Linked DNA regions of Homo sapiens: region 1 is linked to region 2. The links are contacts of gene promoters, found by promoter capture Hi-C in blood cells and fetal thymus (Javierre and others, 2016). All regions are on one chromosome and are shown on one strand. The core of a region is centred on a gene start or on the middle of the fragment in contact, and the rest is flanking DNA. Distances in the headings are between cores, read along the strand shown.

Region 1 (5,634 bases), core at 941-3,440, 260 kb after region 2:
TGCCCAGACCTGGCTGGAAGCCAACTAGTTGCTTCTTAATCCCAGCCTTAAAAATCTTTGTAATCCCCAGATGTAGGTGGTAATAATAATAAAGAAAAGTAGATCTAGCCAACCATCCCTGTGATTTACATTGAGAAAGTGCTAAATTGGGACAGGAGGTAGAGAACTTTGTGGAAAAAAACAAAACAGAACAAAAAAACCCTCGGAAATTTAGAACACACTGGGACTATCTATGTCTGTAACTTTGGGAAGGGCAAATACTGGTGTTATGGACTCACCAAATTCATATATTGAAACCCTAGCCCCCAGGATCTTAGAATGTGACTGTATTAGGAGATAGTGCCTTAGTTAGAAGTGGTGGTGAGCACCTGTAGCCCCAGCTACTTGGGAGGCTGAGGTGGGAGAACTGCTTGAGCTCAGAAGTTCGAGGCTAGCCTGAGCAACATAGCAAGACCTTGTCTCAATAAAAGAATAATTAGCCAGGCACGGTGGCTCACGCCTGTAATCCCAGCACTTTGGGAGGCCGAGGTAAGCAGATCGCTTGAGGCTGGGAGTTTGAGGCCAGCCTGGCCAACATAGAGGAACCCCGTCTCTACTAAAAATTCAAAATATTAGCTGGGTGGGGTAGTGTGCACCTGTAATTCCAACTACTCAGGGGGCTGAGGCATGAGACTTGCTTGAACCGGAGAGGAGGAAGTTGCATTGAGCCAAGATTATCATGCCACTGCATTCTAGCCTGCGCAACAGAGCAAGACTCTGTCTCAAAAAAAGAAAGAAAGAAAAAAAAAAAAGGAAAATTAAGTTAGGTCATTAAGGTGGAGCCCTAATCCAATATGAATAGTATCCTTATAAGAAGATGACTCGTCAGGAGCACATGTGCACAGAGAAAAGGCCACGCAAAGGCACACTGAGAAGGTGGCCATCTGCAAACCAGGGAGAGAGATCCCAGGAGAAACCAGTCTCATCAGCACTGAGGTCTTGGACTTTCAATCTCCAGAACTTTGAGAAAATAAATTTCTGTTCTCTAGACTTCATCTAGTCTATAGTGTTTTGTTATGGCAGCCCTAGAAAATTAATACAACTGGTTCTACCAAATGGACAATAGGTTTAAAAAAAATGGCTACAACTAGGCACCATCTCTTTTAAGTCATGATCCCGACATGTCCATCACTTGCTCTTAGGATCTCTTACCCAACCTATGCAGAAGAGTCTCCCATGTACTTTCCTTCTACAGACACCCTGTGTGGTCCCTAGGATCTTGCCTGAAGTTGTTAAAGCCATATTCAGCTTCATGATTTTGACTGTTAGGAAAAGAAAAACTTGGCCTCTTCAGCAAGTGACCTAGGTTAGCTGTTGTGCCATGTACATAGTAAGTACTTTGTAAATGTATGGTGGGTGATGGGTGATGATGTTATGATCATCCTTAAATACCATGGGGTGACTCCCTTCTGATCATAATGAATCTCCATGTTTTGGCCCTAGCCCAGCCCTCAGGGAACTTTCATGCCACCTAGCTGGGAACCAGCAGCTCTGGCCCTAGCTACATGAATGGAGAGAAAATGGCTATGTCTGTATCCTGGTACCAATTCCTGACTTCTGGGAGGGAGGGCTGCTTCTGGAAGTGGGGATTGTGGTGATTTCACTCTATGATAACTTTCTTATATCTTTGGCTATTTGTTCTAAGGTAGCCCATGATGTCTCCATAGGAAAATGATGTGTTTTAACAACCACCATGTTTGGAGTATAGATTGTGAGAGCTCTTCAAGACAGTGCTGGGTCTAGTAAATGTGGTTTTGTGTTTCTGTGAGCACATAAATGATGCTTGAGATGGATGAGGGGCCATCTGAGTTTGGAGGAAAATCATGAGCCTTTCAAGGTCTAGGTGATCAAATCTAAGCTTGTTTTGAATCATTGAGTAAGAAAGGTCTTTAATGGCAACTAGACACCTCCACTTATTTTACACTCAGGGAAATGGACTCAAAATGGTAAATGACTATCTCATGGTCTTACAATCTCCATTTCCTCACTTATAAAATGGGAATAATAATTCCCACCTCTCTGGTTTTTGTGAGTAATTACGTAAAGTGCATAGCACAATGCCTGTCACATATCAACACTTCCACAAATGATTTGGGGACTTGCGGGGAGAGATTGAGAGGAATGGTTTCCATTCTAATTATGTTCCAGACCTGCTTATTAAAGCCTTGTTATTCTTTGCCACAAAAATTCACATCTCTGATCAATCTAAGGAGTTATTAGAACAAGCGTCCCCATTTGAAAGCCTGCTTGTGAACTTCCATTTTCCTTTTCTCATTTAGAGGATAGCAAAGTTTTAGAGAAGCAGGGGACCTTTGATGCCACCCAATCTGATCCTTTATTCCATTGATGAAGAAAGCATGGCCCAAAATGGGTCAGGAAGAGCTGTACCTAGCACTCCCTGGACTGTGGTCCTGGGTCTCTTGACTCTTGATATGCCCTCAGACAAAGCTTCACCAGGAACGGGTCATTGTCATCTAGCTGGACACAGAAGAGACGTGAGCTGTCTACACCTCATTCTGTCTCAACTATTAAAGGATTGAGTTTAGAGTCTCTCCAACTATGTCCAAATAGCAAATGTATACCTTGAAATTAAAGAGTGTTTTCTCATTATGGTAAGACCTCACACACTGGATTCCAAGGAATGATATACTTGAATGAAATGGCCAGTCCCGTTTACAGTGAACTCCTTGCATGTGAGACTCTGAGTGGAAATCCCAATGCTCCTGAGGCTGATGAGTAATTTTAATGTGGTCATTTAACAAACTCAGGAAAACAAGTTCATCCCTGTTGTGTGACTGGGAGTACACTGATTCCACCTCAGGCTTCTTTTTCCAGTGAGTCATGTCCTACAGTCTGCAGATGGGCACACACAGGCATATACAGACTAGAAAGGAAACCTGAAAATTACCTGACCAGAGGCCAACTATGAGTGGTGGGGTTGAAGGGGAGCTAAGTCGTGCTTCTTTATGTACTAGAATGTGAGAAGTCAGGCTCCCACTGGCTACAGCAAGCAGAAAAACAAGGTGTTCTTTCATTTTTTTTCCCCCTATATAATTCAGTCAAAACTCTTAACTTTCATTTGAAATAATCCAATTGACTGACATATTTTTTCTTTCCTGGAATCTGAATGCAAGCATTTTCCTTATGTAAATATAATTTGTGTTTTCTGCTTAGCAATTGTATTGGTTTGGTGAAATTGTCAGTTCTCTTGTTACAATGCATTCTCTGATTGTAAAATAAGGATAGGTCAGGATAATTTGTAGGAAATTTCTCAGGAGCAAAGGGAGCCACTGTTTCATTGTAAAGTCCTCATTAGCAACTCTTAATCAGTAACTCTGCAAAGAAAATTCCTACAGTTTTGCCCCTGAAGAGTGAGGGAACTAAAGAACCCCAGTGCAGCTCCCAGTCCTTGAATCATCAGAGAGCTATATAGATTGTTCCTATTTCCCCAGTGACTCAGTCCTGGCCCACTACTGGTGTACTTGCTTCACAGCTTAATATTTAAACAAATGTTTGGATTTATAACAGCTCCAGAGGGAGAGTTTCAACATGGCCCTGCAGGGCTAAGTGAAGATTGCTCCATTTTCTTTATTTGTTAACAGTATAGTAATCCAGTTCCTGAACACACAAGGCAAGAATAGCACTGCCATTACTCAAGCAGAGGTGTGCCAAGAGGAAGAGCACAGCTGCTATCCTTTCTCGGAACAACACTCATTCAGTTTTCAAGGGGGGTGCTTTCCTTCTCCCTCACAGTGCCTTGGACCTTTACTCCACTTTGAGTAATTCTAGTATTGCTGCTCACATCCTGTCTTCATTATATTCACCTGAACAAGTGGATATAATGTCATCGTTCACATTCTTCCTTCTTCTTTATCCCCTATAGCTGATTGTCGCAAAAATGTCAATGTGTGTCTCACATTCACACCCCTCATCTCTGTTCCCATTCAGACCCCACCCTCACTGTGCCTGAATTTCTGAAACAGCCGCTTAATGGATCTTCATATTCCTGGTCTTTCCTGTTATAACAGACAGACTCTTCTTACCCATCACTGGCTGTGCAGTGCCTAGCACAATCCCTGGCATTTAGTAAACAATCAAAAATGCTGAACTCAACTGAATTGCTCCAGTTCATCCTCTCAGCTTCCCCTGGGGACTCTTTATAAATCCAGTTTTATTAAGACCTTCCAAGGGCTCTCACTGCCATTAGCAGTAACCACAGGCTGAAATGCACACCAGGGCTGAGCAGGTAACAAATGAACAACATAGGCTGAGTGGGGCTGGAGTGAACTGAAACCTTGTGCATGGTGGAGAAGACCAATGACTGCTCAGCTCCAGCCAAGAGTTTCCATGTGAGAATGTGGGCTTAGTGTTAGAGGCCAAGAATCTGGAATATTTTTTGTCGAGATCTCCAAATTTTTTAATGTTGATGACTAATTCAAAATTCAAGAAAAGCACTGTGAGCCAAGCAAAACACAGCTCTGGCCTGCACTTGGCCTGCAGGTTGCTGCTTTGTGACTCCTAGATCAAATTGCCATTGTCTGGGAATAAGCTCTCAGACCTAAACTTTAGTAACACATGCCTATCCAATCTCATTTCTCCCTCTTCCCAGAGCGCTAGACTGCCCTCCTTTATATCCACCGTTAGGAGATTCTCATTGCAAGTGATTCTCCTTTCAAAATCTTGAACCCAACTGTCCAAAAGTAGCCCGAACAGGTCCCTGACATAACTTCCCTTTTTCTGCTCACATAATTCCTTTTTCTTCAGCTGTCTAGATGTCAACTTTGACTTTTTTTTTTCTTCCAGAAGCCTTTCCCACGTCTTCCGAAATTATTCTCTCTTCCCAGCCTCTATCTTATCTGAATCTTTGTTTGCATTTCTAATGCTAACACCTAATTCAGGAGCTTATCGCTCACACCTGGACCACTCCAATAGTCTCCTAACTGATTTGTCAAAATTAGCCCATGTGAAACTGGTTTTGTTTCTCCTCCAACAGGAGGGTTAATTTGTTCCAACACCAGAAGATTCTCTTACTCAAAGCTGCCCCTTTGTGCGATCACTTTCCAGAACTTTGTTTTCCCATGTAAAGCCTCAATGCCCTAGCTAAAAGAGTGGGAGGGGGTCAGGCCTGGAGAAATTGCTGTCTCTCAGCTTGCATCCTTACATACAGTGGGCGCTCAATGAATACTTGTGGACACATTCTTTTTTCTTTTTGAGATGGAGTCTTGCTCTGTCACCCAGGCTGGAGTGTAGTGGTGCGATCTCGGCTCACTGCAGCCTCCGCCTCCCAGGTTCAAGCAATTCTTCTGCTTCAGTCTCCCAAGTAGCTGGGACTACAGGTGCGTGCCACCACGCCCAGCTAATTTTTTGTATTTTTAATACAGATAGGGTTTCACTGTGTTAGCCAGGATGGTCTCAATCTCCTGACCTCATGATCCGCCTGCCTCAGCCTCCCAAAGTGTTGGGATTACAGGCGTGAGCCACCATGCCTGGCCTGGAAACATTCTTAAACAGCAGCAGAATTGTGACCATGCGAATTTCATGTAAGTCTATTTCACAAAGATACACTTACATATTTAGCATAGCTAAATGTAAGTA
Region 2 (6,206 bases), core at 3,674-6,173:
CTTTCCTTAAAATTTCTCTAGTACTTATATCTTCCAACATCTTCTGCTCTGATTGCCTATGGACAGTTTACTACATTATTTTTTCTTTTATTGTTCCCAAACTGATTAATATATGTGTCATTCTTCTCTACTACGAGGCATGGCCTTGCTTGCTAGGATCCATGCATGTCTTAGATTTACTTTCTTCTCCCTCAAAACCAGGCTTAGCACATGGCATGAAACAGAAATAACCATTATTTCCTGTCTAGAATCAAAGAGAGAAAGAGAAAGAAGAATAAACAAACAAAAAGAACCAGACGAATGAAATCAATACTGCTAATGTTACTGATATCTACAACTATTACACCGACAAAGTACCTTTGGAATGTAATTGGCAAACTGGATCCATACAACTATAATAAGTTGTTGTGTTGTCCTTTAAAATACTTAACATGTAACCTTTTATCTTTAGATTAATCCTTAATCCTGTTAGGTAGATAGCAAACTAGCAAACCTCTTAATATCTTCATTTTACTGTGGCCCAGAAATTTGTGGAATCTTGTACAAGGTCAAATAGCTAAGTAACCGAGACTAGCTATCAAGTTTTTATCAAATACCTAATTAATCCCAGACTCCTGACTTCAGCATGGTACTTTTTCCACAAGTCCATGAAATGACAAAGTCTAAAGTCATAAATCAAGTGACAAAGAACTCAAAATTACCTCTGAGAATTCTGATTCTGTAAAATCGCATGATATGAAAGTCTATCATTTTAAAGACAAGTAGAAGGATAAATTATTGCTTGGATTTAAATTTTAATTTCACCCAATTAAAATGGTTAGGGGATGGGACTTTTCAAGAAAAGACTTAAAAAGACTACTATGCCTTTTAAAAACATGTGGATGGTGTATAAATTAATCTTCTCATCAAATTCCAAATATCAGAACCAAAGATAGTTTCAGAACAATTAGAAGTTATTACTTTTTCTATTTCCCTGTCTTCCAAGTCTAACTCAGGAGTCATTTTCTTCAAGAGGACTTCTTAACTGGCCAGCCCTTGGTCATTCCTCTTTCCTGGCACTTCAACTGCCTTGTCAGTCGACTGGAATAAGATACTTGGTCTTCGTTTCTATGTGAACATCAAATCTCTTCAAATAGAAAGGAAGATCTTTTATATTAATACCTCTAGAGCCCTGGTACATGGTAGGCAATATTTCTGAAGACCACGACAATGCTGTTACAGAACTTCTTTCCTCAATCCACTTTACAAATAAAAGTGTAAATATTCAGGAAAAATTTAAGGACACTAAAGATACATTTGTAACCCATTATTAATAGGAGTCTAGGCTGTGTCTACAATGTGGAAAGTGGTCCCTTAGATATGGAATCCTTATGCAGTATAGAACCTGAACACCAGCCCATAGAGGCCCTGGATATAAGAACGTTACAGATAAAAACCACTAGGAGTTTTTGTTTGTTTGTTTGTTTTTGAGATGGAGTCTCACTCTGTTGCTCAGGCTGGAGTGTAATGGCGCCATCTCAGCTCACGGCAACCTCTGCCTCCTGGGTTCATGCCATTCTCCTGCCTCAGCCTCCCAAGTAGCTGGGACTACAGGCACCCGCCACCACGCCTGGCTAATTTTTGTATTTTTAGTGGAGACGGGGTTTCACCGTGTTAGCCAGGATGGTCTCGATCTCCTGACCTCGTGATCCACCCGCCTCAGCCTCCCAAAGTGTTGGGATTACAGGTGTGAGCCACCGCGCCTGGCCACCACTAGGAGTTTTTAAAAAGAGAGATATTACTTGTTGCCAGGGAAATCCTGGAAGACTTTGTGAAAGGTGTCATTGAAGCTAGGTGGTGGTAGGTTTAAACTACAGACTAAAGGGCACAGGAAGATGGATGGAAGAGACTTAGGTAGGGGCAAAGATGCAGGGCTTGTGAAGAAACAGTGAGTAGTCTAGCTTAGCTGCCTTATATGGTTGTCTTATAAAGTCTGCTGAAAACCAGGGTGGAATATTAGAGGATAGAGGGACTTGACCAGAAATGAACACCTGCTAATCTGCTGTACTAACAGATGAGTCAATAACTGGAATGGGGAATCCTGGAAATGCAGACAAGAGTCAGATTGTGAAGGATCTTGAATACCATGAAGACTTTATCCTAAACAATGCGGGGGGTGGTGGGGTAGTGGGGGTCGCCTAGCAAAGTACAGGAGGAAAAGAAGCAGGATGAGTAACATGATCACATCTGAGTTTTAAAAAATCACTTGGATTGCAGCTGCCAGGTGATTTGGTGAGAAGAGTGAGTAGGAGTGACCAGTTAGGAGTTAACTGCAATAGTCCAGGCAGCAGATGAGCTCCCAACCTTTAGGGAGAGGCAAAGCAGAGGAATGAGGCAAGATTCATTTTTGACAAAAGCCTTGTTACATCACGTGACATAAGGAGAAATCAAAGATGATTCTTTTGTGTTTTAGCTTGATTAAATAGGAATGCCAATAATTAAAAGGCAGGAATGAGGAGGGATCCACTTGAGCAGGTGGCTGGCAACTGAACTCCAGATGTGCCAAGTTTGAAGTCCTGTGGCAATATCCCGTAAGGAGTTTAACTCGTTGATCTGGAAGGAGTTCAATACAGAGATCCGGACCAGAGAGGAGGTGGGAGCGGTAGCTGTGAGAATGGCTAAGAGAAGGGGGCTGAAAGTAATATTCTGTTCAACCTTGCCATTACAGGCTGTGACGGAAGAAGATCTGAGGACAGTGAAAGAACTATTATTCCCAGAAAAGCTCTCTCAGAATCCAAGGGAAGAGCTTCAGGAAGCTCTTCAGGAAGGAAGCAATTATCATTGGTGTAAATAGTGTCAAATACCACAGAGGTGTCAAGTAAGATAACTTAATCACTGGATTGAGAGGTCTGGGAGTAAGCTGAAGGGAAAGCAGTCAGAGGGTAGCAGCAGCAGGTGAGGAGGGAGCGCACTTTCAGACATGTGAATAGCCTTCCTTTACCTTCACCTCGATGGTGAACGGTGGAACACAGGCGTTTTCTGCTCTGCCCACTATCACTTCCTCTAAGGGGTCCCATTCGTTGTAAGAAGAGACAGGGCAGTCCTTGGGCAGAGGCTCAGTGGCTTTGTCGTCAGCTGCACAGGAGTTCCGGGAGGAAGCCGTAGCTGCCTGGGTGCTCTGGAAAGTTCGCTGCACCCATCCTGTCAAGGTTCGTCCAAGCTTCCAAGAACAAAGAAAAGATTATTGTATTGCATTGCTCTATCAGTACTTACAGAGAGGAGGAAGTGGAGATGGAGTAAAAATCCAGCATAACATTGCCACTTAAACCCCTTTAGAACAGCATAAACCAAGACGTTAACAGTGTGTAGGTGGGTAGTGGGATTACAGATAATTTTTTTAACCCTCTTGTTTATCTACAAATTGTCTTCTTATCTATTAATTGCTGTAACTCTTTAAAACTCCTCAGAAGACCGTGTCCCCAGCTACCATACACCCCCATCTTTATCTCAGAATGCAATTCCTGCACTCAAGCTTTAAGCAACTGTTTTGCAGATGGGTCAGTCCTCCTCTCAGAAAACCATAGACAGCTGCTCTAAAACTTCCCGCCAGTCTCAGCTGGGGACGGAACCTCCTTTTCCCTTAAGTATCAAAGGTTACCAATATTAGGCTTTTTATTTATTTTTTTTTACAAATGAAAAGTTGGGAACATTTGTAAAGGACCTTATCTTTCAGAATAACCAGCTTCAAATCAAATTTTTTTCATCTTTGACATACACTTCGCATTCTTTGGCACTTCAATTCTGAGAGTGAGCAACTGCCATCTGCTCCATTTTACAGATGGTCCACAGTACCCTAGCCAAGGTCAGGATTAGCTCAGGCGTAAATTCAAACAAATAAGAAGGAGATCTAAAAACTTCAAAAGCCTTTTAAAAATGCATGGCCTATAAAATCTAGAGCAGGGAGGGTCCCTCAACCCCTGAGCAAACCTCAACCCCCCAAATCTCTATCCTGCTCTGTTAAAAGCCTTAGGAAGTGGGCAGGAGGAGAACTCGGGTGGAGGCAGAAGAAAGACGGAGAATGACAGCTGTTCAGGAACCAGTTGCTGGGAGGAAGCCAGAATGTCGGAGCGATTCCAGTACTAGAAGCATGGGAGGGTCTGCTGCCAGGGCAGCCGAGGGCGGGGAGCGCAGAAACTCTGCTTACAGGCTGCACTCGCCCCGACTCCTCTCCAGACGTGGGATCCCATGTTATACTTGGAGTGAATCTGGTCGCTCGCTCCCCGTCCCCGATTCCCACTTTGCTTGCCTCTTCTCCCCATCCATCTACCCCACACGCATTTTCCAGAAATCTCCCCAACTCGACGCCCACTCAGGCTACTGAACCCCAATAACGCCACCCTTTTACTAAGAGGAGCCTCCGTCGTCCCAACCCCTTGCTCCGAGCGGGAAGCTTGGTGCAGCGCACCAAGGTCCGGTAGAGGGGGGCGGCGCCCCCTGCGCCGTGGGCCAGCAGGCCGCGGACGCGCAGACAGCAAGTGGACCCCAAGGGCTGGAGCCGCAACGCAAGTTCCCCCTGACTGGGGGACGCCGCCCAGCTCCTGGAGCCTGCGAAGGCTCTTGAAGCTGAGCTTCCCAGGGATACCAGAAGGGACACTCTCGTGCAATTCCGGCTAGGGAAAGCGAGGGAAGGTGGCGGCTCCGGGCAGGGAGCGAGCGAGTGCTCCACGCCGCCCGCAGGATCGAGTGAGTCACGCGGCCGCCAGACGAGGCCGGTGGCGCACGCACCCGAGATCCGATGTAGTGCACCGCCTCGGCGCCGCGGCTCCCGCCGCGCAGACACCGCACCCGCAGCATCGCCCTGGCCCGGCTGGTCCACGCGCGGAATGTTCCTGGCCTCTGGGCCGCGTCGGTCCAAGCCTTCCCGAGAGCGCGCCCGGAGCGGGGTGGGCGGGCGCGCGGGGCCCGAGGCCTTTTGTAGCCGCGCTCCGCCCCGGCCGCCCCCCGCGGCCCCATTGGCTGCCGGGAACAGGTGGTGGGGCCGGCGTAGCGCCCCGAATTAGGAACTGTCGGGAAGCGCCGCGGCCGCTGGCTCGAGCCTCCGATGCTTGCCCTTTTTTAGCCAGCGGGGCCACTGACGGCTTCTGTTGCACGTCCGGACCCGGACCCAGACCCGAGCGTCGCAAGAAGGCCCGTTGGAGTCTCGCGCAACTGGGCAGGACGCGACTTCTGACGAAGTGACAATGGTCTATGCATATATTAAGTGAATATTTGAGAATTTAAATATGCAAAGCGTGAGTACAGTGTTACCCTTAAATTCACATATGCGCACTGAACCAGTCACCTCATTTTTCGGTAAACGAAACCACCTAAAGATTAGGTGGTTTCTTGGTGCAACATCGGGTTTGAGACTGCAGAAAACTAAGTCTGGAAATTGGGCCATTTGTTCCCCGGGGAGGCAGTGCTTTCCTTCCAGTACCCCGTCGGTTGTTATTTGGAACACCTGGCATTTCACATGGTCTTTGGCCATATGCCCCTGGCTTGAGAAACTCCGTCATGAAAATCGACAAGTGTGGGTCAGAAATAAGGGAGGACGACAGTTTCGTTCCTTCCATTTCATGTTTTAAAATTTTTGTTTCAACTTGATCAGGATTCTTTTTTAGAAAAGTATTTTCCCTCACAGTGCAGTCTTAATTGCTGTGGATTTGTACAGAGCTAGAGAACTCAGGTTAACATTTATGCTCCTAGCAGGAGGGGGGGCAAGAGATTTGAGTATTTCATTTTTGTACTTATAGAATTATAACTATTCATTTTTGATGAGCTGTCTTTTCAATTTTGGTATCTCAAGCTTGTTTTCCAGAGTTCATGGATGGAAAGCACCAGACGAGCAGATGGCATGGTGGAAAGAGCCTCCGAGAGGGAATTAGGATAACTGAGTTCCAGTCCTGAATCACTTATAGACTACTATATGTCTTCCTGAATTGCAGTCTTCTTATCTGCAAAGTGAGAACAATAGAATTTACTGTCCCTAGCACATGGGGGGTTGCTGAGAGGCCAAAATGAGAGATTGTACATGCAGAACTTGATGCGTGGCATTAGAGCTGTATGAGGCCGGGTGCAGTGGCTCACGCCTGTAATCCCAGCAATTGGGAAGGCCGAGGCAGGCGGATTGCCTGAGGTCAGGAGTTTGAGACTATCCTGGTCAACATGATGAAACCCTGTCTACTAAA

Evidence for each region. The method cuts DNA at HindIII sites, captures the fragments that hold promoters and counts their contacts. A CHiCAGO score of 5 or more calls a contact.
Region 1: a fragment that was not itself captured here is called in contact with the fragment with the promoter of GATM in region 2 in 1 of 17 cell types (monocytes); the score reaches 6.8 in monocytes.

Annotation. Positions count from the first base shown.
Region 1 is chr15:45,637,964-45,643,597 of GRCh38, forward strand. All of the region lies in intron 1 of SQOR (sulfide quinone oxidoreductase), which reads left to right. Among named protein-coding and RNA genes, the nearest start is that of SQOR, 5.8 kb to the left of the region's middle. RefSeq lists an enhancer at 3,825-3,874. The HindIII fragment of the contact is 590 bases long and covers 1,896-2,485 here.
Region 2 is chr15:45,373,621-45,379,826 of GRCh38, forward strand. It overlaps GATM (glycine amidinotransferase), which reads right to left and starts at 4,924. Exons shown (of 9, transcript NM_001482.3): 1 at 4,765-4,924; 2 at 2,981-3,199. The coding sequence starts at 4,833. RefSeq lists a silencer at 4,723-5,052 and an enhancer at 5,193-5,272. The HindIII fragment of the contact is 1,395 bases long and covers 4,428-5,822 here.